Regions from separate parts of the Homo sapiens genome. Here all the other regions are linked to region 1. The links are contacts of gene promoters, found by promoter capture Hi-C in blood cells and fetal thymus (Javierre and others, 2016). All regions are on one chromosome and are shown on one strand. Each heading gives the region's core, a stretch centred on a gene start or on the middle of the fragment in contact. The rest is flanking DNA. Distances are from core to core; before and after follow the strand shown. Region 1 holds the start of ARHGAP27 (Rho GTPase activating protein 27). Region 2 overlaps MAP3K14 (mitogen-activated protein kinase kinase kinase 14). Region 3 holds the start of FMNL1 (formin like 1). Region 4 overlaps FMNL1-DT (FMNL1 divergent transcript). Region 5 holds the start of FMNL1-AS1 (FMNL1 antisense RNA 1).

Evidence for each region. The method cuts DNA at HindIII sites, captures the fragments that hold promoters and counts their contacts. A CHiCAGO score of 5 or more calls a contact.
Region 2: a fragment that was not itself captured here is called in contact with the fragment with the promoter of ARHGAP27 in region 1 in 1 of 17 cell types (neutrophils); the score reaches 5.1 in neutrophils.
Region 3: the fragment with the promoter of FMNL1 here is called in contact with the fragment with the promoter of ARHGAP27 in region 1 in 11 of 17 cell types (monocytes, endothelial precursors, neutrophils and 8 more); the score reaches 21.0 in monocytes.
Region 4: a fragment that was not itself captured here is called in contact with the fragment with the promoter of ARHGAP27 in region 1 in 1 of 17 cell types (neutrophils); the score reaches 5.8 in neutrophils.
Region 5: a contact is called between the fragment with the promoter of FMNL1-AS1 here and the fragment with the promoter of ARHGAP27 in region 1, in 3 of 17 cell types (neutrophils, monocytes and activated CD4 T cells). The highest score is 13.5, in neutrophils.

The regions. Positions count from the first base shown.
Region 1 is chr17:45,431,497-45,434,196 of GRCh38, reverse strand. ARHGAP27 (Rho GTPase activating protein 27) reads left to right here and starts at 1,327. Exons shown (of 20, transcript NM_001282290.2): 1 at 1,327-1,445; 2 at 1,848-1,981; 3 at 2,445-2,576. The HindIII fragment of the contact is 25,899 bases long and covers 1-2,700 here.
Region 2 is chr17:45,303,344-45,306,043 of GRCh38, reverse strand. The region is part of intron 1 of MAP3K14 (mitogen-activated protein kinase kinase kinase 14); the gene reads left to right. Among named protein-coding and RNA genes, the nearest start is that of MAP3K14, 12 kb to the left of the region's middle. The HindIII fragment of the contact is 3,452 bases long and covers 1-2,700 here.
Region 3 is chr17:45,220,617-45,223,316 of GRCh38, reverse strand. FMNL1 (formin like 1) reads right to left here and starts at 1,432. Exons shown (of 27, transcript NM_005892.4): 1 at 1,064-1,432. The coding sequence starts at 1,192. It overlaps FMNL1-DT (FMNL1 divergent transcript), which reads left to right and starts at 1,552. Exons shown (of 3, transcript NR_147507.1): 1 at 1,552-1,968. RefSeq lists enhancers at 1-393, 394-894 and silencers at 741-1,035, 958-1,067, 1,348-1,397, 1,408-1,857. The HindIII fragment of the contact is 10,145 bases long and covers 1-2,700 here.
Region 4 is chr17:45,199,258-45,201,957 of GRCh38, reverse strand. The region is part of intron 2 of FMNL1-DT (FMNL1 divergent transcript); the gene reads left to right. Among named protein-coding and RNA genes, the nearest start is that of FMNL1-DT, 21 kb to the left of the region's middle. The HindIII fragment of the contact is 4,769 bases long and covers 1-2,700 here.
Region 5 is chr17:45,240,520-45,243,019 of GRCh38, reverse strand. FMNL1-AS1 (FMNL1 antisense RNA 1) reads left to right here and starts at 1,250. Exons shown (of 3, transcript NR_186808.1): 1 at 1,250-1,909; 2 at 2,416-2,500. FMNL1 (formin like 1) reads right to left here. Exons shown (of 27, transcript NM_005892.4): 12 at 2,395-2,500; 13 at 1,790-1,891; 14 at 1,386-1,638; 15 at 874-1,173; 16 at 555-679. RefSeq lists an enhancer at 1,140-1,858. The HindIII fragment of the contact is 17,531 bases long and covers 1-2,500 here.

The DNA of each region.
Region 1 (2,700 bases), core at 78-2,577:
AAGGTAGGGAGGGAGAGAAGATTCCTCCAGCCACGATTTTCTTTTTTTCTTTTTTGGTTGTTGTTTTTTGAGACGGAGTCTTGCTCTGTCGCCCAGGCTGAAGTGCAGTGGCACGATCATGGCTCACGGCAGTCTCCGCCTCCCAGGTTCACACCATTCTCCTGCCTCAGCCTCCGGAGTAGCTGGGACTACAGGCTCCCGCCACCACGCCCGGCTAATGTTTTATATTTTTAGTAGAGACGGGGTTTCACCGTGTTAGCCGGGGTTTCACCGTGTTAGCCAGGGTTTCTCAATCTCCTGACCTCATGATCCGCCCGCCTCGGCCTCCCAAAGTGCTGGGATTATAGGCGTGAGCCACCGTGCCCGGCACCAGCCACTATTTTCTAAGCATGTCGGGCACCAAAGACCAGTGCTGAGTTCTGCTGTGTGCCCACCCTGGAGGGTCCCAAGGTGCCACCAAGGCTCAGACACACAGATTCTCAGAGGAAGTGTGGACTCACAGGTGGGCAATGCCTAGCAGAGGCAAAGATATAGAGGTAAGGGAGTTCCTTACTTACTATATCTTACAAAGATATAGAGGTAAGGGAGTTCCTTACTTACTATATCTTACAAAGATATAGAGGTAAGGGAGTTCCTCTGAATCTGGGTGGCCAGATTCAGCTTCCCACCCAACCCTGGGTCCCCAGGAGGTGGTGTCAAGAGAGGCCATGGCCTGGGATGCGGGCCCTTCTTCCTCCCAGAACACTGGCCTGAATCAGCCAGCTCTTGGCACACACAGCCAGGTCCACAGGCACAACTGTTCCTTGGGGCCCCTGAGGGCAGGGGGTGTGCTGGGGCTGTGGCTTGTAATGTCTGGAGTGAGTGCAGGCTCAGATCAGGGCGAGGCTGCTTGTCCAGAGAGGCAGAAAATTCTCCAACAGAAGACCCCCAAGGCGGAGGGCCCTGGGGCTGGACTCCTGGAGGTTGTTCTGAGCTTACCCTGTGGACGGATTGGAGGGTGGCCCTCCTTCCCCACAAGGATCAAGAGGGGGTGGGGGATGGTGGGAGGGCAATCTGGCCAGGCGAACCTGCGGGGGAGGCTCCCGCCCTCCCCAGTCCCACCATCTCAGCCCCGCAGCCTCTTTCTCCCTGGAGACAGCCAGGTGCGGCCCAGGATCCCGGGAAAGGCAGGGGAGGGGGTGGCGTCTTCGCTCCTCAGGCGCTGGCCCGGCCCAGAGGGGACAGGAAGCCAGGACACCGGGGATTGTCTCTCGCAACCGCAGCCCAGCCCCAGTCCGGGAGGAAGTTCTGCCCGGCGCTCTCCGCCGGTGCCTCCCTGGTTATATTGTTGAACAGGAAACCCGGCAGCGCGGGAGCCGCACAGTCGAGGAGGGAGCGCGGGACGCCGAGCCCACGCGCGCCTGCCGGGGCAAGTGGAGGCGAAGCCGGCGAGCGGACGCCCCGAGGTGCCCGGGCAGGCAGGGTCGGGAGTGGGGCGCCGAGCGGGGGTTGGGGGTGGGAAGTGGGGTGGGGGTGGGGAAAGGGCAGGGTTGGGAAGGGAAGGGTGCGGCAGGTGGCGGGTCCGCACCCGGGAGCTCCGCGCGCCTGCTCCCCTTGTCTCCGCGCTGGGGCGGGAGCTGCGCGGGCCGCATCCCACGGGGAGGAGAAGGTAGGCGAAGGGCTGCCCTCCATCTGGGGGCTGGAGGGAAGCAGGCCCAGGCCCCCAGCGCCGACCCAGGCGTTGACGCCCCTGTAGCTTGAGTCGCCTGGGCAGTGGACGCAGGGGACCTCCTGGCGACTGGTGCGCTGTCGCGCTCCAGGGATCCTCCCGGCTTCCCCAATCCCTCCCCTTCTCTGCGTTTCCCCAGGGTCGGGGAAGGAACCGAGGTCCGGTCCCCTTCTTATCCAGCCCGAGACATCGAGCTCCGGTGGGCGTCCCTGCGCTGGGAATCCCGCTCGGAGTTTTTCCAGGCCCGGCCGGGCTGCTCCGGGAAAGGCCCTGGTGAGGGAAGAGGTGGGCCCGGAGCGGGCGGATTTGCAATCCGGTTGGAAGGGCTCGCAGTGGGTGATTCAGGGTGCAAATGACCTCCCCGGGAACAGGAACGCCCGCACGAGACAACCAGCCCCAGCCCGGCATTCCCAGAGCCGCGCACAGGAGGGACGCAGGCACTCCCGGACAGCAAATCCCGGGGGGTGGGGGGTGGGGGGGCGGGGAATAGAGGGGGAAGGCGGAGCGGGGGCGGTCCCATCCTCCTTGGGCTCCGCTCGCGACCTGCCAGTGCCCCTTCAGACGCAGCAGTCCCGGCTCCAGGTGCCGGCCTTCTGCTCTGGGCCTCGTCCCAATGCCCCCCAAGGTCCCCAGCAGAGGCATTCAGGCTCCTCCTCGCCCCACCCAGACACGGCTGCTTTGGGTATCGGTGACAGCACTCCTGAGCGTCCCTGTCCCTCTTCGCTCTGCTTGCCAGCTCCTGTTCCGCGCAGCCTCTCCGGCCTCGCCCCTGGAAACCCCGCCCAGGGCGATGGTAGGGGCCTAACCTGCAGCCACCGCCGGCTCCGCCCACCCAGCCCATGGGCTCCCTGAGGCCCGCCCAGCCGACGTGAGTGCGCTGCGGGGTCCAAGGGGAGGGGGCGCCGGGGGAGTGTCCTGCTTGGGGTTTGTTGGTTCAGCACCGGGCAGCTCGATGACCCCGCCTCCGGGGCCCAGCGTGCTTAGTGACTCAG
Region 2 (2,700 bases), core at 193-2,692, 130 kb after region 1:
TAGTTATGTGTATACAAATAGCAGATTGTTGTAACACTCAAAGATGACCACAGGACAACTAATTTCAGCTTTAGCTGCCAAGGAATTGTGGGTCCCAGTTCATCACGCAGAGCTGAGGCACTGCCAGTGGACACAGAAGCCAGATGGGGTGTGCAGAATGCTCTTCAAAGAACATCTTCATGGGTTCTTGCCGACCACTCTGTCCCTCTGCTTTCAGGATTGTCCTCCTCCTGCTTTGACCACATCTGTTCCAGACTTTCTGTCTGATGCTAGGGCTGCTGGCTAGAAGCTGTGGGAGGTAGGCTTCAGTGCCTTATAGCAGCAACTTTGAAGCAACTTAACACTTATAGACCATGACTCACATCTGTAATCCTAGCACTTTGGGAGGCTGAGGTGGGCAGATCACTTGAGGCCAGGAGTTTGAGATCAGCCTGGCCAAGATGGCACAATCCCATTTCTACAAAAAAATAAATAAATGAAATTAGCCATGCGTGGTGGTACATGCCTGTAATCCCAGCCACTTGGGTGGCTGAGGCATAAGAATCGCTTGAATTCGGGAGGTGGAGGTTGCAGTGAGCCAAGATCACACCACTGCACTCCAGCCTGGGTGACAGCAAGACTCTGTCTCACAAAAAAAAAAAAAAAAACGGCCGGGCGCTGTGGCTCACGCCTGTAATCCCAGCACTTTGGGAGGCCGAGGCAGGTGGATCACGAGGTCAGGAGATCGAGACCATCCTGGCTAACATGGTGAAATCCTGTCTCTACTAAAAATACAAAAAATTAGCTGAGCGTGGTGGCGGGTGCCTGTAGTCCCGCTACTCAGGAGGCTGAGGCTGGAGAATGGTGTAAACCCGGCAGGCAGAGCTTGCAGTGAGCCGAGATTGCGTCACTGCACTCCAGCCTGGGCGACAGAGCAAGACTCCGTCTCAAAAAATAAAAAAAATAAAAAAACATAAAACCAAAAAAAATCTTACACTTCCAGTCATACAAAGGTCTGACTGCTCATCTTGTAGCGGCTTCCATCTCACTGGAGGTTCCACTGATGTTTCCAGAGTGCCCACTGCATGCCAGGCACTGTGCTATGTAATTTAAACTTTGTTCCTTGCATTGAGTCACCGTGTAAAATTCTATCATGTAGGTTTGAGGATCCCTATATTACAGATAAGACTCCTGAGTCTCAGATTATGTGACCTGCCCATGGTCACACACCAGAGTATTGAGAAACTAAGATTCAAACTCAGATCTTCTGACTCCAAGGCCATCCTGTCATGTAGCTGAATGGCCATTCCTCAGGATTAGTAAGTAATATGTTGGAAGAAATTACCTCTGAGGGTCTTTCTGATCCTAAGAGCACTTTGATTATTCCTTTATGATTTATTTATCCATCTACCCATTTTTTCCCCATCTAGACTATAGGCATGTTGAAAGCAAGGATAGCATCTTCACAGCAAATAAATAATACAATGTTTGGAAACCACCTATCTGATGCTATCTACTTCTCTGACACATAGAAACAGGAGAAAAGATATAACCCATTAACAAAAGAGTCACCCAGAAATTCCAATCCCAAGAGCTTACCACCTAGAATTCCTTCTACATGTACACATAAATGTGAATAAGGGTAGAGTTTTTTCCATTATTACGTATAAGTGAAAAATTGGAAACAAAGTTTCCAGGTGGGAAAATGATGATACATCTGTACCTTCCAATCTTATGAAGCCTTAAAAAGAATGAATTAGAGGTCAACCATGGTGGCTCACACCTGTAATCCCAGTACTTTGGGAGGCCAAGGCGGGTGGATTGTTTGAGGTCAGGAGTTCAAGACCAGCCTGACCAACATGGTGAAACCCCGTCTCTACTAAAAATACAAAAATTAGCCGGATGTGGTGGCTGACGCCTGTAACTCGGAAGGTTGAGGCAGGAGGATCACTTGAACTCGGGAGACGGAGGTTGCAGTGAGCCAAGAATGGGCTGCTGCGCTCCAGCCTGGGCGACAGAGCGAGACTCCGTCTCAAAAAAAAAAAAAAAAAAAAGAAAAGAAAAGAAATAAATCTAAATGTGCTGAGATGGAATAGTATTCATAGTATCTTAAGTGAAAGATACAATTTGTATGACATTACATGTGTATAATCCATGTTTCTTTTAAAAATAGTCCCAAACTAGGCCAGGCACGGTGGCTCACGCCTGTAATCCCAGCACTTTGGGAGGCCGAGGCGGCTGGATCACGAGGTCAGGAGATCAAGACCATCCTAGCTAACACGGTGAAACCCCGTCTCTACTAAAAATACAAAAAAAAAAAAAAGTCCCAAACTATATGTTTATATATGTATAGTAATTGGAACTAGAAGGATTTACATGAAACTTAAGTGTTTTTTATGTTGCAGAGAGGACGGGACGGTGCCGGGATTTTTTTTCTATATACAATTTTGTTTTGTTTACATTTTTACAATGAACAATTATTTTGGTATTGGAAAAAAATTTTTGAGATGGAGTCTCACTCTGTTGCCCAAGCTGGGGTGCAGTGGTGCAATCTCGGCTCATTACAACCTCTACCTCCTGGGCTCAAGTGATTCTCCTGCGTTAGCCTCCAAAGTAGCTGGGATTACAGGTGCCCACCACCACACCCAGCTAATTTTTGTATTTTTAGTAGAGACGAGATTTCCCCATGTTGGCCAGGCTGGTCTTGAACTCCTGACCTCA
Region 3 (2,700 bases), core at 183-2,682, 210 kb after region 1:
ACCAACTGAGCCAGAACCCTCTGCGGCCTGTGTCTCCGTTGAGCCCCCACCCTCAGACCTGCAGGGACTGGGAAATGCATCTGGGAGAAGGCACAGCCTCATTTTGCCTGTCACCCAGCGTCCAGCAAGGGAAGGCTGACAGCAGGCAGGCCACCAGGCAATTAGTTAGAGGAGGGAGCCAGGGCCAGGGCGTCGGGGGTGGGGAGAGTGAGAGTGAGCAGCTCTTCCTCTCCCTACTTCTGCCTTATGCAGGGTCTTGGAGACCCCTGAGTCTGCTCTGGAGCCCCCACCCCACTGAACATGTTGACTGTTTCCAGGCTCGGCCTGAGCTGCTGGTTCCCTCCCAGAGACCTATTCCCCAGCGACCCCGCTCCAATTCCCCAGGTAGGCACAGAGGGGGGTGGTTCCAGATTTTGCTCCACCCCTAGCCTGGGCGACCCACCCGTCCTGACCCCACCCTCCCTCATCTTACTCCCTTCAGTGGCTTGGAAAGGATGCCCCAAGATAAAGACCCACAGGCACCCTGGCTCTGACATATGGCGGGGTAGAAACACAGATACCTCCTGGCCATGATCCGACAACCCCATTCCCCGCAGCCCAGGCGCCCAACAAATCAGGACCCAACACCTCCAGCAGGTCTCCCGCTCCCGGGAGGTTGTAACCCTTTCATCTTTGACTCCAGACACAGAAAGGCAGATGCCCCAGACCCGCGCCCGGTGGCTGGGCCTGCGTGCAGTGGGGAAGGGGGCGACCCGGGACCCCTGTGCGTGCCCCGCTCCCAACTTCTTCACAGGACATACTTGTTTAGACCTTAAGACCCAGCTGGGGTGGAGGCGTCTTAGGGAGGGAGACCGGGCGATAACTGAAGAAAGTTTTGGGGGGAGAGTGCTAAGTCACTCTGAAAAAAAGGCCACTGTCGCTCCCACCTCCTGGAGGGGGCAGCTGCCGGACCGGGGATCTCCAAGCGGCACCTGAGTCCCCGGGGGCGGGGACGCGCGCCCAGCCCCTGCCGCGCCCCTGCCGCCCCCCGCCCGCGCCCGACCCGCCTCCGGGTCGCACTCACCAGGGCGCGGTTGAACCTCTCCTCCAGCTCTCCGGCCGCGGGCATCGGCTGCTTGGGAGGCGCGGGCTGCTTGGGGGGCGGCGCGGCGGGGCCCGCGGGCTGCTCGGCGCTGCCGGCCGCGTTGCCCATGGTGGTCCCCACCCAGCCGGCCAGGCGCCTCCAGCCTCGGAAATCCAGCTTTCCGGGGGACGGGGACGAGGCTCCCGGCCCGGGCGGGGGCGAGGGGGCAGCGGCTGGCGGTGGCGGCGGGGGTCTCGGCAGCGGGGGGCGCTCGGCTCAGCGGCGCGCAGGGGCCGGAGCGCGGCGTCCCATCGGGGCGGCCCCGTCCGTGGGACCGGGCGGCGAGCTGCAGGGTTGGGGGAGGAAGTCAGGCTGCAGGCCGCCGGGGCCAGAGGGCTGGGCCGGGGGCAGGAAGCTGCGGCGCTGGCTCCCCCCTCGGCGATTTTCGAACTTCTGCTGTCGCTCCCCGTGCGCGCAAACCGCAGTTCGCCGCCGCCGCCGCCGGGCACCCAGCCCCAGGGGGGCGGGCTGGAGGGAGGGGGCGGGCGCTGGCCGGGGGACCCCCGCAACCATGGCGGGCGGGGAGTGGGCTGCCGAGCCGCTTCACCTGCCGCAGAGGGGGCGGCCGGCGCCGCTTCACCTGCCGGAGCGGGAGGCCACCGAGGCGAGGCCGAGGCGGCGGCGCGCTCGGCGGCGCCTCCGGGTCCTAGAACCGCATCCTCCCGCTCGCCTCGGGCGAGGGATTGGCCGGGTCTGGGTGAAGGGGATCACGGCCTGGGGATTGGAGGGGCACATCTTCTCCGCACCGAGGATCTCAGCGACTGCGAGCACGGCTCGGAGACCCACGGTGGTGCAGCGTTGGGGCGCCAGGGCTGCGTTCCCGTCTCGCGTCCCGGACTGAGAAGGTGGGAACCCCCTTCCAGGCCCCCCACCTTTTATTTCTCTCCTCCCCTGCTTAGCCCAGAGACGAGCTGAGGACGAGGGGGAGCCATCTCCAAACAGGAACTCCTAAACAGGGTGGGGGGCGCGGACGCAGGCCAGTGGAGACCCCCGCCACCTGTCCCACCTCGACCAACCGTGCGCCTGTGCAGGGCACCCCTACAGGTTTTAGAATGGGGGCACCTATGGAATATGGCAGGCTGCGAGAAGCTGGGCCCGCCAAGGTGGTCCCAAGGAGGAGTGGGGGGTTGCGGAAAGGAGGATGAGAGCCAGCCACAAGGCTGGAAAAGGAGTGGGCACCGCAGAGGAGGGAAAAAGAATCTTGACACTGTCACCGCCAGGGATCTAGGGGGGCCTCTTACCTTGGAGAATAACAATCTCTGATGTCTGCTAATTACAGAAATACTTTCAGAGCTCTTTCATTCATCCTGACAATGGCCAGAGAAGGTAGGTATTGGTAGCCTTATTTTAGAGATGGGGAAACTGAGGCTGAGAGTAGGTAAGTAAGCTGTCCAAGGGCACTCAGCTAACAAAGGACAGAAGCAAGCCTCCTCACTGTCTACCTCCAAAACCTACACTGGCTTGGAGTTGCTGTCCTGGCCCTCCACTGCCCATCTCATGTAGGACGGGAGAGTATGGGGGGCTGGGGTCCCATCTATAGCCTGAATTTGAGACTTTCAGTTGCTCCTCTCATTCCC
Region 4 (2,700 bases), core at 31-2,530, 230 kb after region 1:
GGCATGCGCCACCACACCGAGCTAATTTTTGTATTTTTAGTAGAGACTGGGTTTTGCCATGTTGACCAGGCTGGTCTTGAACTCCTGACCTCAAGTAATCCTCCCGCCTCAGCCTCCCAAAGTGCTGGGATTATAGGCATGAGCCACTGCGCCTGGCCATTATTCCATAAATATTGATGGAGGGCCAACTGCATGCCCAGTGCCGAGGGATAGAGAAGAATTAGACCCCAACCTGCCTAAAAAGAGCTCACGGCCTGGGAAAGGAGTATGAGGGGAGGTCTGTTTGCCCTAGGGGCTGCTGAGGAAGAAACACTAAGCCCAGATCCATTCCTGACATAATTCTGCCTGGACATCCACTGAGTCAGGGTCAGAGACTCAGGGCTGCCCTCCTGGGTTGTTGAAGGAGAGGCAAAGTTGAAACCACTAGAAGGTGGGGCTCCTCCAGGGGAAAGACCAATTCCAGGCACCCCATCTGAGGACAAAAGCTGAGAGAACATCTTCACTGGGGTGTGGGGAGTATACAAGAAATACCAGGACCAGGCCGGGTGTGGTGGCTCATGCCTGTAATCCCAGCACTTTGGGAGGCCAAGGCGGCTAGATCAGCTGAGGTCAGGAGTTCTGGAGACCAGCCTGGCCAACATGGTGAAACTCTGTCTCTACTAAAAATACAATAATAAGCTGGGCGTGGTGGTGGGCGCCTGTAATCCCAGCTACCTGGGAGGCTCAGGCAAGAGGATCACTTGAATCCGGGAGGCGGAGGTCACGGTGAGCCGAGATCATGCCACTGCACTCCAGCCTGGGCAATAGAGTGAGACTCAGTCTCAAAAAAAAAAAAAAAAAAGAAAGAAAAGAAAAGAAAAAAAGACCAGGACCTGCAGAATTTTCCTGACAAGCCACCACCTGCAAAGCTGGCTCCACAGTGGATCCACCTCTGTACCTCCCAGAGCAGCCGGCATTCTGTCATTTTTGTTGAAGGAAATGGGCAGAGACTGGGACAGCCAAGCGCGGCCTTCTGTGGTTTTAGGGAGAAGGGCGGGTGAGCCAGTCCGTTGCCCTGAGAAGAGGTCAAGAGGATGAAGACTATGAAAGCGACTGAGTTGGGCAATTAGGGGTCCCTAGTGGCCTTCAAAAAGAATGCTTTCAACAGCAGCTGCTGAAATTTCAAGGGCAAGTTCGGTAGCGGGAGGGGAAGAGGGAGAGAGAGAATGCAGAGCCTAAGCCAGCCATCAGCAGAGTGAAGACACACGCATAATTCATGATGTCCTTCTTAACTTGTTTTGAAAATCTGATTTTTTTGACAGACAACTCAGGGGTTAATCAACCTCAGAGGTTCAGAAGTTCCATGAATCCCTTAAAGTGGAGAGAACTCCACCCAAACAATATAATATTGCTTATATTTGCACCAGGGAGACATAGCCTGAATCTATCCATAAGGAAATACCAGACAAACCTCAAATAAGGTGCATTCGATTAAAAGGAAAAATGTGTGGGGGAGTCCTACTCTGAAAAAATGTCATGAAAGATGAAAAAGATGAGGAATTGCCCCAGATTAAAGAAGCCTAGGCCAGCATGGTGGCTCACACCTGTAATCCCAACACTTTGGGAGGCTGAGATGGGCAGATGGCCTGAAGCCAGAAATTCGAGACCAGCCTGGCCAATATGCCAAAACCCCATCTCTACTAAAAGTACAAAAATTAGCTGGGTGTGGTGGCGTGCACCTGTAATCCCAGCTACTCAGGTGGCTGAGGCAGGAGAATCACTTGAACCCAGTTGAGCCGATATCGCACCACTGCACTCCAGCCTGGGCAATAAGAGCAAAACTCAGTCTCAAAAAATAAAAATAAATAAAAAATAAAGAAGCCTAAATATCTGGGTGTGGTGGCTCATGCCTGAAATCCCAGCAAGCACTTTGGGGGCTGAGGCAGGAGGATTGCTTGAGCCCAGGAGTTCAAGACCAGCCTGAGCAACATAGGGAGACCCCTGTCTCTACAAAAAATAGAAAAATGGCTGGGCGTGGTGGCTCATGCCTGTAATCTCAGTATTTTGGGAGGCCGAGGTGGGCAGATCACGAGGTCAGGAGATCGAGACCATCATGGCCAACACGATGAAACCCCATCTCTACTAAAAATACAAAAATTAGCTGGGCATGGTGGCAAGTGCCTGTAATCCCAGCTACTCCAGAGGTTGAGGCAGGAGAATTGCTTGAACCCAAGAGGCGGAGGTTGCAGTGAGCCAAGATCGCGCCACTGCACTCCAGCCTGGCGACAGAGCAAGAGTCCGTCTCAAAAAAAAAAAAAAGAAGAAGAAGAAGAAAAATGGCCGGACACAGTGGTTCACGCCTGTAATCCCAGCACTTTGGGAGGCCGAGGTGGGTAGATCAGCCTGGGCAACATAGTGAGACCTCATTTCTTTTTTTTCTTTTTCTTTTTTTTTTTTTTTGAGACGGAATCACGCTCTGTCACCCAGGCTGGAGTTCAGTTGCGTGATCTCAGCTCACTGCAAGCTCCACCTCCCGGGTTCATGCTATTCTCCTGCCTCAGCCTTCCGAGTAGCTAGGACTACAGGCGCCTGCCTAATTTTTTGTATTTTTAGTGGAGACGGGGTTTCACTGTGTTAGCCAGGATGGTCTCGATCTTCTGACCTCGTGATCTGCCTGCCTCGGCCTCCCACAGTGCTGGGATTACAGGCGTGAGCCACCGC
Region 5 (2,500 bases), core at 1-2,500, 190 kb after region 1:
GGCCACCAGCAGAGAACCAGTAACCCAGCCTGACCACAGGCCCTGATGGGAGGCACAGGGGAAGCACAGGGAGCCTGGAGGAGGAGGGCCGCCTAACCCGGGGGATCCAGACTTGGGGCCACAAGAGCTAAAGGAAGAGCTGAACTGGCCAGCGGTAAAAAGGAGAAAGGAAAAGACATTCCAGGCAGAGGAAACAGAATGGAACAATGGCCTAGAGGCAAGAGAATACATCCTTTTGGAAAACTGGAAGTGGAATCAGGAGGGCTGAAGCCTTGGCTGCCTGTGGGAAAGTGGAAGGAAAGAGGCCTGGAGGCAGAAGAAGTGGGGTGAGGGGAGGCACCCCTCTGCAGGGATGGAGGGGAAGGCGTTTGGGAAAGCAGGATTCTGCCTGTTAGAGGTATTGGTCCAGTCTGGCTTAATGCCCATCCCTGGGCCTCCCCCTCCTCATCTGTGAAATGGCTTGGAGAAAATGACTACCCCCAGGGCCCAGCCTGATCCAGGCAACTCCCCTCTTCCTCCGGTGCCCACATGGGGAGCCAGGCAGGGCCACTCACCTGCAGCACCTTCTCATCATTGAGCTCTGTGAAGACAGTGCCGGTGATCTGGCTGGGTTTCAGTGCCACCCAGTTCAAGAGTGGCATTCGGAACTTAGTCTGGATGGGCTTCTTGGCCTTCACTCCTGGGACGGGGGTTTGGGGGCAGTGGTGAGCACTGGGGGTACTACTGGAGGGAACCTGGGCCCAGGGAGGGCTGATGGGGCAGCCAGGAGGCAGCAGGAGGCCCCCAGGCAGAGGACCCTGGAGGACACTGAGGCCCAGGCCCCTCCCTCCATCTCCCCCCAGCCCCGGGCCCAAGGTGGTCCACTCCACTCACCTGGGCCCAATTCTGAGTCGCGTCTTCCTAGGGCATCAGGAGGACCTCCGGGAGGCGGCGGCGGCGGCGGCGGCGGCGGAGGCACCGGCCCGTCAGTGCCCGGAGGTGGTGGCGGTGGCGGGGGTGGGGGCGGCAGGTCTCCGGGCAGCGGCGGCGCAGGCGGGGGCTCCGGGCTGCCAGGGAGAGGCGGGGCCTGTGGGGGCGCAGAGGGCGGGGCTTCCTGCGGGGAGGGGAGGCCGGGCAGTGGGGGCGGCGGCGGTGGCGCTGCTCCGGGAGCCGGCTCTGCTGCAGGTGCGAGATCTGAGCCAGCGAGGGCGCGGCGTGGGGGAGGCGCGAGTCAGCTCCTTGACTTGGGTGGGCCCCTCTCCGCCTCTCCGCTCTACGCATGCGCTCCTACCTGAGCCGAGCCTACAATCCAAACCTCCCTCGCCCAACTCTGCCCGCCACAGATGCCCCTGGGCTCCCCTCCAGACCCTGCCCCGCATCCCCGCCAGCCTGAAGCTCCTGCGCACCTGGGCTGGGGGAGCCGGTCGGCACCCCCGGAGTCGGAGCATCACCGCCGCTCGGAGTTGCCACAGCGACGGGGAGGATCTCGATGGAGACAGCATCCCCCGGCCCCCGCAGAATACGGATTAACCCCTTCTCCTCCAGCTCCTCCACCTTCAGCTCCAGGGCCGAGGGCCGCGTCGGGGCAGCGGGAGGCGCTTTCTCAGGCTCTGGGGGACGCCTGGAGGGCCCCATGGCGGTCGATTCGCTGAAGCGCTCCTACGAACCCCACGGGAGGGGTCAGTGCCCACCAGCAGGCTCCTTGGCACCAAGCCTCCATCTTCTTCCCGGGGTGGAGGGAGATGTCAAGCCTAGAAGCCTCAGCTGGCCTGTTCTTGGGCGCCTGGCCTACCACCCGCCCCAGCCTCACCCGCAGGGTCTCCAACTCCTTGCGCGCCTGGCTTAGCTGTTTTTCCAGTTCTGCAATCTTGGCCATGGATTCGTTCTCCGCGTCCCGAAGCCGCTCTGTCAGCTGTAGCACCAGCACATGGTGAGCCCCGACCCGCAGCCCGGCACTGGCACCGCCGGTGAGGGGGCGGCATCAGGCATGCCTGCCTGGAAGACTGGGGGAGGCTCCCAGATCCGCTCAGCCCAGGTGCCAAGGGTGGGCCGAGCCTGGCACTCGAACCCAAGCAAATAAGGAGAGGAAACCAAGGTACCAGTGATGCGGGAGGTGGAGGGAGAGGAGGAGACTGAGCTGGGAGGGGCCCCAGGCACCCATTTCAGTTCACCTGGGGTCTGAGCCTGGGTAGAGGAGGGGCCTGTCAGTGAGGGTGCTCACCCACACTCATTGAGAAAGACACCCAACAGATTCAGGCTTTGGATTCAGGCCAGGCTCTGGGGCCAGGCAGGCAGCACCTCCAATGCACAATTATAACACTGTCTGCTGCCCAGTGCCCATGCTTGCGTGGCCCTGTGGCCCGTGTGCCCTGTGGGCCTATGATGTGCTGGGCTGGGGTCAGGACCCACTCTCACCAGCGCCACTTGCTCCTGCAGTTCCTCCATGTGCTCCAGCACAGCGTTCTTGGTCTCTGTGTCCTCCAGCAGCGCCCCCACATCAAAAATATTGTCCAGGTACGCC